Regions from separate parts of the Homo sapiens genome. Here all the other regions are linked to region 4. Evidence: promoter capture Hi-C in 16 types of primary human blood cells and fetal thymus (Javierre and others, 2016). All regions are on one chromosome and are shown on one strand. Each heading gives the region's core, a stretch centred on a gene start or on the middle of the fragment in contact. The rest is flanking DNA. Distances are from core to core; before and after follow the strand shown.

The links. Contacts are between HindIII fragments. The CHiCAGO score rates a contact against its expected background, and 5 or more counts as called.
Region 1: a contact is called between a fragment that was not itself captured here and the fragment with the promoter of PABIR1 in region 4, in 2 of 17 cell types (neutrophils and total B cells). The highest score is 9.6, in neutrophils.
Region 2: a contact is called between a fragment that was not itself captured here and the fragment with the promoter of PABIR1 in region 4, in 1 of 17 cell types (activated CD4 T cells). The highest score is 5.7, in activated CD4 T cells.
Region 3: a fragment that was not itself captured here is called in contact with the fragment with the promoter of PABIR1 in region 4 in 2 of 17 cell types (naive B cells and neutrophils); the score reaches 6.5 in naive B cells.

What each region holds. Positions count from the first base shown.
Region 1 is chr9:68,497,052-68,499,751 of GRCh38, forward strand. It overlaps PGM5 (phosphoglucomutase 5), which reads left to right. Exons shown (of 11, transcript NM_021965.4): 10 at 2,176-2,310. It overlaps LOC124902174 (a long non-coding RNA gene), which reads right to left. Exons shown (of 2, transcript XR_007061565.1): 2 at 1,830-2,402. Among named protein-coding and RNA genes, the nearest start is that of TMEM252, 42 kb to the right of the region's middle. The HindIII fragment of the contact is 7,679 bases long and covers 1-2,700 here.
Region 2 is chr9:69,198,349-69,201,048 of GRCh38, forward strand. All of the region lies in intron 1 of TJP2 (tight junction protein 2), which reads left to right. Among named protein-coding and RNA genes, the nearest start is that of TJP2, 25 kb to the left of the region's middle. The HindIII fragment of the contact is 2,171 bases long and covers 264-2,434 here.
Region 3 is chr9:68,516,867-68,519,566 of GRCh38, forward strand. The region is part of intron 10 of PGM5 (phosphoglucomutase 5); the gene reads left to right. Among named protein-coding and RNA genes, the nearest start is that of TMEM252, 23 kb to the right of the region's middle. The HindIII fragment of the contact is 5,042 bases long and covers 1-2,700 here.
Region 4 is chr9:68,778,682-68,781,381 of GRCh38, forward strand. PABIR1 (PP2A Aalpha (PPP2R1A) and B55A (PPP2R2A) interacting phosphatase regulator 1) reads left to right here and starts at 1,384. Exons shown (of 1, transcript NM_138333.5): 1 at 1,384-2,700. The coding sequence starts at 1,484. The coding sequence ends at 2,347. All of the region lies in intron 2 of PIP5K1B (phosphatidylinositol-4-phosphate 5-kinase type 1 beta), which reads left to right. RefSeq lists silencers at 873-1,287, 1,405-1,644 and an enhancer at 1,292-2,120. The HindIII fragment of the contact is 10,001 bases long and covers 1-2,700 here.

The sequences.
Region 1 (2,700 bases), core at 54-2,553, 280 kb before region 4:
GTGAATATCAATATAATTGTGAGACTTTTGGGGATTTATTGTAGGTTTGAACGTAACTTGAAATACAGTGATTTGTAGACAGTCAGTAATTGCTTCACTTGCTCCATTTGGAATTTTGTAACTATTCACTTCTCCAGCAGCATAAGGTGGTTAAGAAGACAGTTTCTGTTCGTTGTAAAAAATTACTCCAGGCTTAAGGAGGACAACTATTGTGTCTTTATATTCATATACCCAGGATTTAGCACAGTGCCTAATCCATAAGGGCCACACTAAAATGTTTGCCCAGTGAATAAATCCTGGATAATATCATCCTGTCTGCAAAGCCAGTATTACAGAGTGATTGGTTGCCAGTAGGGGAGATAGCTCCCTTTGGTTACACAAATTGTGGCAGACATTGAACCACTCCAAAAGAAACTAAAGCTATTTATTTGGGGATTGAAACAAAAAAGCCTACACAACTTGAAAAAAGCATAAAGACACTCAGATGGAACCATAGTGTCTCCCAGCAGATATCACCAGATGGGGGTGGGGGTAAATAATTGCAGTCACATATGCAGCAGGTATATATATTTTTACTAATGGCTTATTCTTAAACAGGACTTGAGGCCAGAGAAATTTCAAGGATAAATTGCTTTGGGAGAATGCCTGATATCAATGTCTCCTGAGACATAGAAGTTTTCCAAAATAACAAATCACCAGATATATTATTTTGTTGCCTCCTCTTCCTTCCCCTGGCCCCTGCCAATATGCTTATTTACAAGAGTTACCTTATCAGTTGTCTTAGGAGAACACATTTCCTTCAACAGAAGTCACAGTATCATCTTATGGTCATAATTTTACAATATCCCTGCCTCTACTGAGAAGAGATACATAGCGAATGGAGATGTGCTGAGCCAATGAGGAATTAATCCTAGGCAGCACTAGTAGATGTGGCCACAGCTCTGGCCCCACCCCACTCTGGTGGTCAGGCCAAAAAAGAAGTCAGGTAAGAAGTGTGAAAGGAAATTCAATCTTGGGACCCCCAAACTCATTAAGCCACAGGGAAAATTCAAGCTGGGAACTGGGTCACGCAAACATGCCTCCCCCTTTTGGTTCCTAAATAAGATGGCTACAAGATGAAAAGCTACATGCCTCCCCCATATTTTGCCCACAAGGGAATTCCCAGTGAGCTGCTAGATCTTTACACTAAAGGTGTTTCTATTAAAATTTCACCATGGCAATATAAATTGATAGTTTATAGATGCAGTCACCCCTGGCCCACCAGACACAAATGCATATCTGATTGTTCCCCTGGCCCAGTTTTGTCTGTTATCTTATATAAAATGCAGATTCCCTGCAATTTTCCTCTGCCTCATTTGTCTGTGTCATCTTATGTTAAAAAAAAATGCAGATTCACTGAGCCAGACAAAGGCATGAATGACTGTTTTTCCCTACCCACCTCTTACATGAAAATTGTGTACTTCTCAATATCCTGCCCTTTCCCCTTTAAATTTGGAGCCTTCAAAATCATCTTTGGAGAAAGGCATAGACCTGTCTCCTAGGTGTGCATCCTTAACTTTGGCAAATAAACCTCCTAAAATAATTGAGACTTGTCATTTTTCTCGATTGACAGAAGAAAAGACAGAGCCAAGAGGATGGCAGTGTACTTGGCTACCCCCAGAGCCTAGCTGAGGCTCCAGCCCTGGGCACTTCACTGGAGCATTCCCTTGCCAGCAGAGGAACCTGCAGCCTAACCTCATGCTGGGGTAACCTTAATGTGGGCAATCCGTCTTACTGTAATAGACAAATTGCCTGCTTTCACTTAATCCACAGATTTACAAGGGACAAACTTTGGCCCTAGGAATATTTATTGAATATCATTTCATCCCTGTGACTTCCACTTCTTTCTGATTCCCATATCACCAGCCCAAGAGAACTTGAGTATCTGTTCACAGCTTTGCTCCTCTTTCCCCACATTAACCACAAAGCAACGGAAATAGAATAAAGAGACAAATGGGTAACTCTAAGTAGGTTCATCACATTCATTACATGCCCTGTATCCAGAGCCAATATAAATGGTCTTGATTCTGATTGTGTTGAGGTATAAAAACATGCTGATTTCTGTGGCAGGTATTAATGATTATTACTTGTGTATTCATTTGCTCACTGCTCCATTCTGGATGTTCTTGGTCTCAGGGCCTAAGGATCATTTTCTCGGATGCATCACGGCTCATCTTCCGGCTCAGTTCCTCCAGTGGTGTGCGGGCCACCCTCAGACTGTACGCAGAGAGCTACGAGAGGGATCCCAGCGGCCATGACCAGGAGCCACAGGTACAGAAACAGCTGTGCTCCCAGCAGTGTGTCTCGCAGCTCCTGGCAAATTTAGAGAGCTCCATGGGCCTTTAGTGGGGCTATTTTACCTCCTGGAAAGGTACATGATAATTTCAGCTGGAGGACAAGCTCAGGGCAACTCCAAGCAAGTTTAATTCGTTCATTACAGTGTTTGAAACAGAAAAATTGCTCTCTCGCATCTATTTGTAATCCGTTTAGACCAGCATTTCCCAAACAACTGTCCTCTCTTGACTGTTGAGTGGTTTGTTAATTGGGGTAAAGAAAAAGCACCTTTTATAGACAAGGAAATTTAGCGTTAGAGTCAAACTGGTGAAACTCTCAGAGCCTTGACTACGCTTATGTAACTTTTGAATCTCCAGACATTTGGAC
Region 2 (2,700 bases), core at 99-2,598, 420 kb after region 4:
CCAGGCTGGTCTTGATCTCCTGACCTCAGGTCATCTGCCCGCCTTGGCCTCCCAAGGTGCTGGGATTACAGGCGTGAGCCACCATGCCCGGCCACCTTTCTCAATTCTTTATTATCTATTTAAATGCACGCTAAAAAATTTACCTTAGGTAAATAAAGGAGAATGTGGTTAAAAAACACAACTCAGTAAACCTGGCACTCTTCAGTAGTAGGTCTGGGATCTAGTTGTGTTGATTCTGGTGACCTATCACAAACCCCTCTCTAAGCTTATTGCTTTTTGCTGTTAAACTTGGTCATAAGCAAGCTGTGTCCATTGTGAAGTGTGTGCTGTGAGCACATCGCATACACTAGATTTAATCATCCACTGCCGGCACTCAGTGCATTGTGAAGGGAGGGTAAGGAGCTGGTGAAATCACATGTGAAACTGAAATACTTGTGGAATAAACGATGAAAGGGTTTTGTTTGTAAAACAAACGCTACAGAAAGTATTGTTGGATGCGGTGGCAACTAGTTTATTGCTACCAAGAGGGGTTTAAGTTTGAATAGACCACAGGTAAGTGCCCTGAAGCCAAAAGGACTTGGTTTATAATGTTAAAAATTATTCGTTTTTGGAAGAACAAGAGTTGAACTCATTTTCTGCCTTCTCTGGGAAAAAGCATTTCCTGTTTTGTTATTAGACAGCTGTTTCAAAGTTTTGTCCAGTAAGCAGAATTTTGACTAAATTCTTCACAATAGTTAAAACCAATTTCCTGGGGGCAGGTGGGGAACTATAAAAGTCCTCTTTTCATCTGGAGGTAGGTTTACCTACCAGCCTAGGCCAGCTAGCTGTTTCTTTACACTATCCCTTTCTAAGGATTTGAGTTCGTTTGTAAAATGACATAGCAGACACAACATAATACCAGAGGGGGCTGAACGTGGTGGCTCACATCTGTAATCCCAGCACTTTGGGAAGCCAAGGCAGGAAGAGTCTCAGGAGTTCGAGACCAGCCTGGGCAACATAGCGAGACCTTGTCTCTACTAAAATTAAAAAAAATTAGCCAGGTGTGGTGGCATGTGCCTTTAAGTCCCAGCTACTCCGGGGCTGAGGCAGGAGGACCGCTTGAGCCCAGGAGGTTGAGGCTGCAGTGAGCCCTGATTGTGCCACTGCACTCCAGCCTGGGCGACAGAACAAGATCCTGTCTCAGACATACACACACACACACGCATGCACGTACGCACGCACCAGAGGGAAACATCATGCAGAAAACCATTGGCCCATTTATTGGATGGTGTCCTCCCGAAGTTTCACATCTGCTGTTTGGAGCTACTGAGAACCTGGCTGATTTCATTTAGTGCTCCCTCTGTCTTACTTTGTCTTTCCTTCCTTTCTTTCCTTTCTCCCTCCTTTCCTTCTTTCCAGCTATCCAGTAACATGTATTAAGGACTCAGCATGTGGAAAGCACGCATGACATTGTTCATGGAGACGAGGGTCTGGAGTCAGGCAGCAGCTCGGATCCCATCTCTGACAGTGGTGGGCTGTGTACACTCTCTGGCCTCAGCTTCCCTATTTGTAAAATGGGGATGGTGGTGCTAACTCACAGGGTTGTGGGCATTCAGGGAAAAATTGTATATTTAGTACTGGGTGTGGTGCCCTGCCAAATGTTAATGACTTCCTTCCTCTCCAGTTTTCACACTTACCTTGTCTCCCATTTCTGAGGTGAATATGCATTTTAAGGCTCCCAAGCCATAGATTAAGCTGTTTTGACATGTCTGTCCCTGCTGAGAACGTGAAATCCTGTGTGTGTTATTAAACAGTTTACTGCCCGGCCGCACTGAGTACTCGCAATGTCTTGAACACCCTTGCAGGTTACCCCTCCTGGCTCTGAACGGGCTGTTCCCTCTATGCAGAATGCCCACCCACCTGACCAGTTAGTCATCCTTCAGCATGGAGCTGTGGGAGAGGGAGCCTCCCTGTGGTTGGGACATACCTCCCTCCACCCCAGGCCTCTCATCCTCAGTTAACAACCCGCCTGTGCCATCAATTACACTGTTTTGTGGTTTTTTACACCTTTTTTTCTAGACACAGGATCTCACTGTATTGCCAAGGCTGGAGTGTGGTGGCATGATCATAGCTCACTGTAGCCTCCAACTCCTGTGCTCAAGTGATCCTCCTGCCTCAGTGTCCTGAGCAGCTAGGACTATAGGCACATGCCACTGCACCTGGCTAGATTTTAACATTTTTCTTTTTGTAGAGATAGGATCTTGCTTTGTTGCCTAGCCCAGTCTTGAACTCCTGGGCTCAACTGATGCTCCCACTTCAGCCTCTTAAAGTGCTGGGATTATAGGCTTGAGCCACCATGGGGGCTGGCCTCGCTTCACATTTTATGTAGTTGCTATAACCCCACCACTCACCCTGCTCCAGCCCATGTCACCTTTTCTCTTTCCTAAATGTACTAAGCTTGTTTCCCACCCCAGGGCCTTTGCATTTGCTGTTCCCGCAGCAATCTGGAGAGCTGTTCAGATTTTCCTAGGATTAATTCTTCCCAGTCTGCCATCCCATGGCACTTATTACTACCTGAGATGATGATATATATTGACTCTTGTCTGCTTTCTCTGCTAAAATCCTCCCTGTGAGGAAACGAGTTTGGCACATATCCCCTGGCAGCATCTGACATGGCATAAGTACTCAGGGAGTATATGTCGAATGAATGAGCCTCTTGGT
Region 3 (2,700 bases), core at 24-2,523, 260 kb before region 4:
TTTGTTTTTTGTTTTTTGTTTTGAGACAGAGTTTCGCTCTTGTTGCCCAGGCTGGAGTGCAATGGCGCGGTCTCGGCTCACTGCAACCTCCGCCTCCTGGGTTCAAACAATTCTCCTGCCTCAGCTTCCTGAGAAGCCGGGACTACAGGCATGCACCACCACGCCCGGCTAATTTTTTGTCTTTTTTTTTTTTTTTAAATAGAGACGGGGTTTCTCCATATTGGTCAGACTGGCCTCAAATTCCCGACTTCAGGTGATCTGCCCGCCTCGGCCTACCAAAATGCTGGGATTACAGGCCTGAGCCACTGCGCCTAGCCTAGTTCTGTGTTGTAGTCATGAGCAGTTGAGTCCATGCTGAGAGTTTGCATCTCAGGGCATAGGCATAATAGGGGACGGGGAGGACTGCAGTACCTTTACTCCCCAAATGGTTGCTGGGCTCTTACGCAAATCTGCCAGCCCTCCGCAGTAGTCTTCAAGGCCCTCATAATACAAAAATCTCTATTTCAGAAAAAGAGAAAATTTAAATTAGAATGCCCCAGATTCCTGGATATGTAACTATCCAGGTAAAATTTATACTTATTAATATTAAAATTATTTCACTGCCTCTAGTGTACTATTGCTTGTTCAGTGGTAGCAAATTCAGTCACCCACCAACACAGGCAGTAAGTCCTAGATTGGGGCCAATTTAAGACAATAGAGCATGGTGGGCACTCTGGTGATGCTCAGCTGTCTTTAATTATTGCATTGTTAATATGTGAGCTCAAGGTTGCCAGGTTTTCTGATTTTAAAAGGAGCAAGATATCTGGACTTTCAAATGAAATTTGATTTTTAAATATTGGCAGGAAAATGATTACAAAACAACACAAATCCCATATGAAGGACTTCTAACTTTTAGTAGTGGTGGACTAGGTGATTCAAACTAACCTTCCCTCTGTAAAGAGCTGAAAGAAATATATTAAAGCATCTTATTAAAAGCATGGTTGACCAATGACCTAATAAAACAGTAACAAGAACAGGAAAAGGGTTGGCACTCAGGAAAATGAGCCAAAGCTCTTTCTGTCCTAGGGAATTTGTCCATCTAGGAGAGGTACTAAAGAAGAGGTGCTTTTGATGACTGGCACAGGGTAAAGGTGACCGGCATCAGGTCCAGGTGGAGGAGGATCTGGTCTATTACAGTCTGCCTCTGCTAACCAGGAGACTAACCAAAGAGGCAGCAAAGAGGCAGACCTGTGTGGCATTTTCGTGTGGCCAAAAGAAATATGGTTAGTTAAGTACACATCAAAGGCAGAGATCCTGGCTTAACAATCCCTGCTCTAGGGTGTAAACTTGAAGAAGACCATTCCAAAGGTGGTATACAGACTGTACTCCAGAGGATTATAAATCCATGGCTCTGATCTTCTGGCTCCCTGAGGAGTCTCATGAAAGGAAATGAAGGAAACTAACAATATTCTAGGTCTCCAGTTATTTCTATAAGCAATTTTTCAAACAAAATGGGCACCAAACAATAAAAGATTATAAAGCACTTGGATACACAAAGCAACACATACCAGAATCAACAGAAACAACATACCACAGAAAAAGATCTATAGATACTGGAATTTATTCAATACACACTGTAAAATAGTTATTTTCACTATGTTCATGGAAATAAAGCACTGAATGTAAAAACATCAGCAAATAACTGAAAACTATAAAAATACACCAAGATGTTGAAATTAAAGAGCTGAGAAAGATAACCAAAATTAAGAACATAAATGGATTTAACAGCAGCTGAAGAATATCAGTGAACTTAAAATATTTCAGAAGAAACTATGCATCTGATTTTTCAGTTTAGTCCTTATGATTTGCAGAACAAAGAATATAAGATTGCTGCCTTTGGAAGATGAAAGATCATATTCGGAAAAATACAGAATAGAGGGTAAGAGACACAAAGGATACAGTGAGAAGTGCTAACATAATTTAGTTGGAGTCTCAAAAGAGGAGACAGAAACTTGGGTATAGGCAACACTGGAAAAAATGATAGGTGAAGATTTCCCAGAACCAATGAAGGAGGTCAGCCCACTGATTCTAGAAAGCCAAGCAGGATATATAAAAATAAATTCACATCTAGACACATCAGGCTAAAATTGCAGAAAATCAAAGGCAAAGAATAGTTTGATTGACAACTAATTTTTCTTTATCAACACTAAAAATAAGGAGACTGATGGCTTAGAACTCTTAATCTAGTGAAACTTTCCTTCTAAAATGAAAGCGAAATAAACACATCTTCAGATAAACAAAAGCTGAGAGAGTATCTACACAAAAAGAAATTCTCAAGGATATTCTTCAGGAAGAAGGAAAATTATCCCAGATAGATATTTGGAATAAAATGCAGCAAGGAATAAAAGAAATGTTAAAAATAGGAGTTGGTATAAATGAACATTGGCTGTATAAAATATTAATAATTGCTGAAATATGTATATTAATTAATATGGAGAATTAAATTATACAACCACAGTAACTAAACACCATGAGCATAATTGTAGTTAAGGTAAGATCCTTGAATATATTGGAAGAAAATAAAGGTATAGATAAATACTAGACTTTGATAGGTCAAGGATTCATGTTGTAGTTTCTAGGTAACGATTAAAAAAAATAGAAGGAAATTACATAACTTCTTAAGAGAGGAAAACATAGGAACTTTAAAAAATTGAGAAAGAA
Region 4 (2,700 bases), core at 134-2,633:
GCCTAAGTGATATTTAAAACATAAACCAGATAATATCAGTCCCCTGCTTAAAACCCTCCAGTGGCGTTTCATCATATTCAGAATGAGATCCAACTCTTACCCTCTCCTAACACTCCCGCTCTTATGCTTCAGCGGCACTGCCCTTTTTTCTTTTTCTGCTAACTCATCAAACTCATGGCTGCCTCCGGCCTTAGCACTTGCTATTCTCTCTGCTTGGAATACTCATTCCCCAGATGTCCACGTGACTTACTGCTTCTTGTCATTTAGATCTCAACTCTAATTGTCCCCTGACTTCTATCAGTAGTGCTCCATCACACCATCTTACTTTTCCTAAGGCTTACCACTATCTGAAAATAGCCTGCGTTTCTCTATTTTCCCCTCAGTAAGAATTAAAAGTTCATACTAGGGCCCATTTCCTAGCAGTGTTTGGCACATAGTAAGTATGCTGAAAAAAAAAAACCTTGACTGACTGAATAAATGAACAAATAAACTCACTTTTAATGAGATATCAAGGTTTTATATTAATTACATGAGCCAAGAATTGTGGTTTCATTTTTAAAATGTGAGGACCTACTGGTTTAATCCTTCATACTTCACACATATGCTTGTGCTGGAACTATGACTGTAAATCAATAGCAATACCATCCTCTGTTTTGGCTTCTTCCCCTAACCTAAATAGTTCTCAGATTTACTTTTCTCTCCATCTCCACTGCCACACTGTCACCTTAGTGCAAATGACCATCCTCTCTGGCCTTTTTTCTGTAAGGTTTTAATCTCCCAATATGTATTCTCCAGACTGCAGGCCAGTGAGCTTTTCAGTTGCTGTTACACCCATGCTTGAAAACCCTTTAAGTTTTCATTGTTCTCAAGATAAAGACCAGAATGTGGTCTGGTCCACCACCTCACGTCAGGCCAGCCCTCACTCTCCACTCCAGGCCACACTTTCTCCTCCCCTCCTGGTTCCCGCCTGCCAACTGGCTGGGTAGCCGTTGCTTCCCGCTTCCTGCAAAGTTCTACATCGCACCCATTTCGCCCACTTCTTCAGATTTCAGGAGATTGTTCCTTCCTCGAGGAAGCCCTCCCTGATTAGGCCAAGCGCCACTCCACGTCATACAGCCCCACATCACCATGGGCCTCTCTTTCAGGGCTTTGTTTTATGAGTATGCAATCCAGAATATGACAATCTTATTGACATGCGTCAACGCGAGCTTGCGCTCAATAGCTATTTGCCGAAGGAATATACGGACTAGCGGCCCGACCACTCCTCGCCCCTCCCCTACCACTGCCGCGCACATATTACGCATTAAGCAGGCGCCGCGAGTACGGACATCGCGAGCGCCTGCGCGAAGGGCTACGCATGCGCAGAGGGGCCAGCCCGCTGACAGATTCTCGGTGGCGGCGGCAGCGGCGGCGGCCCTGGACTGCGGGGAATGGGAATCCTAGGTCCCTGACTGAGCACCTCCCCCGCCTCCCTGCCCCCGACATGGCTCAGGAGAAGATGGAGCTAGACCTGGAGCTGCCTCCGGGTACGGGCGGGAGCCCGGCGGAGGGCGGTGGCAGCGGCGGCGGCGGGGGCCTCAGGAGGTCTAACAGCGCCCCCCTGATCCACGGCCTCAGTGACACTTCGCCGGTGTTCCAGGCCGAGGCGCCGAGCGCCAGGCGGAACAGCACAACGTTCCCGAGCCGCCACGGCCTGCTGCTGCCGGCCTCCCCTGTCCGCATGCACAGCAGCCGCTTGCACCAGATCAAACAAGAAGAGGGCATGGACTTGATCAACCGAGAGACGGTCCACGAACGGGAGGTGCAGACCGCAATGCAGATAAGCCACTCCTGGGAGGAAAGTTTCAGCCTGAGTGACAACGACGTGGAGAAATCCGCCTCCCCCAAGCGCATCGATTTCATTCCTGTGTCACCAGCACCGTCACCCACTCGGGGAATTGGGAAGCAGTGTTTTTCGCCATCCTTGCAAAGTTTTGTAAGTAGCAACGGATTGCCTCCAAGCCCTATTCCCAGCCCAACGACCCGATTTACCACCCGGAGAAGCCAGAGCCCCATCAATTGCATTAGACCAAGTGTTCTTGGACCATTGAAAAGAAAATGTGAAATGGAAACTGAATATCAGCCAAAGAGATTTTTCCAGGGCATCACCAACATGCTTTCTTCTGACGTTGCACAGCTGTCAGATCCTGGTGTGTGTGTATCTTCGGATACCCTTGATGGAAACAGCAGCAGTGCCGGATCTTCTTGTAACTCACCAGCGAAAGTCAGCACTACCACCGACTCTCCTGTGTCACCTGCCCAAGCGGCTTCTCCATTTATTCCACTAGATGAACTTTCGTCTAAGTGATTCACTCATCCTGAGACTTTCTTTTTGCAGTGGAGAGAGAGAATAATCTAGTTGGGGCAAACACTGAACTTTGTCAATTAATTTGAGGCTATTTCCTATTTGACCCCTTTTCTTTTTTGAAATTCCCTGAAATGATGTTATTCTAGAGAACTTCTATGTCAGGTTCCTTTGGATACCCTTGAATTCAGTGTAGTAATATTTTCAGACGTTTCCCCAATAAGTGTGTTGAAGCATACATCTTTACGCTGCTAATATGTCTAAATACATATGTTATCCCTTGATTTTTTTAAATAACTGAGAGCTCTATTTATTTATGGGATTATTAAGTTCTGATGAAAATATAAATGTTGACT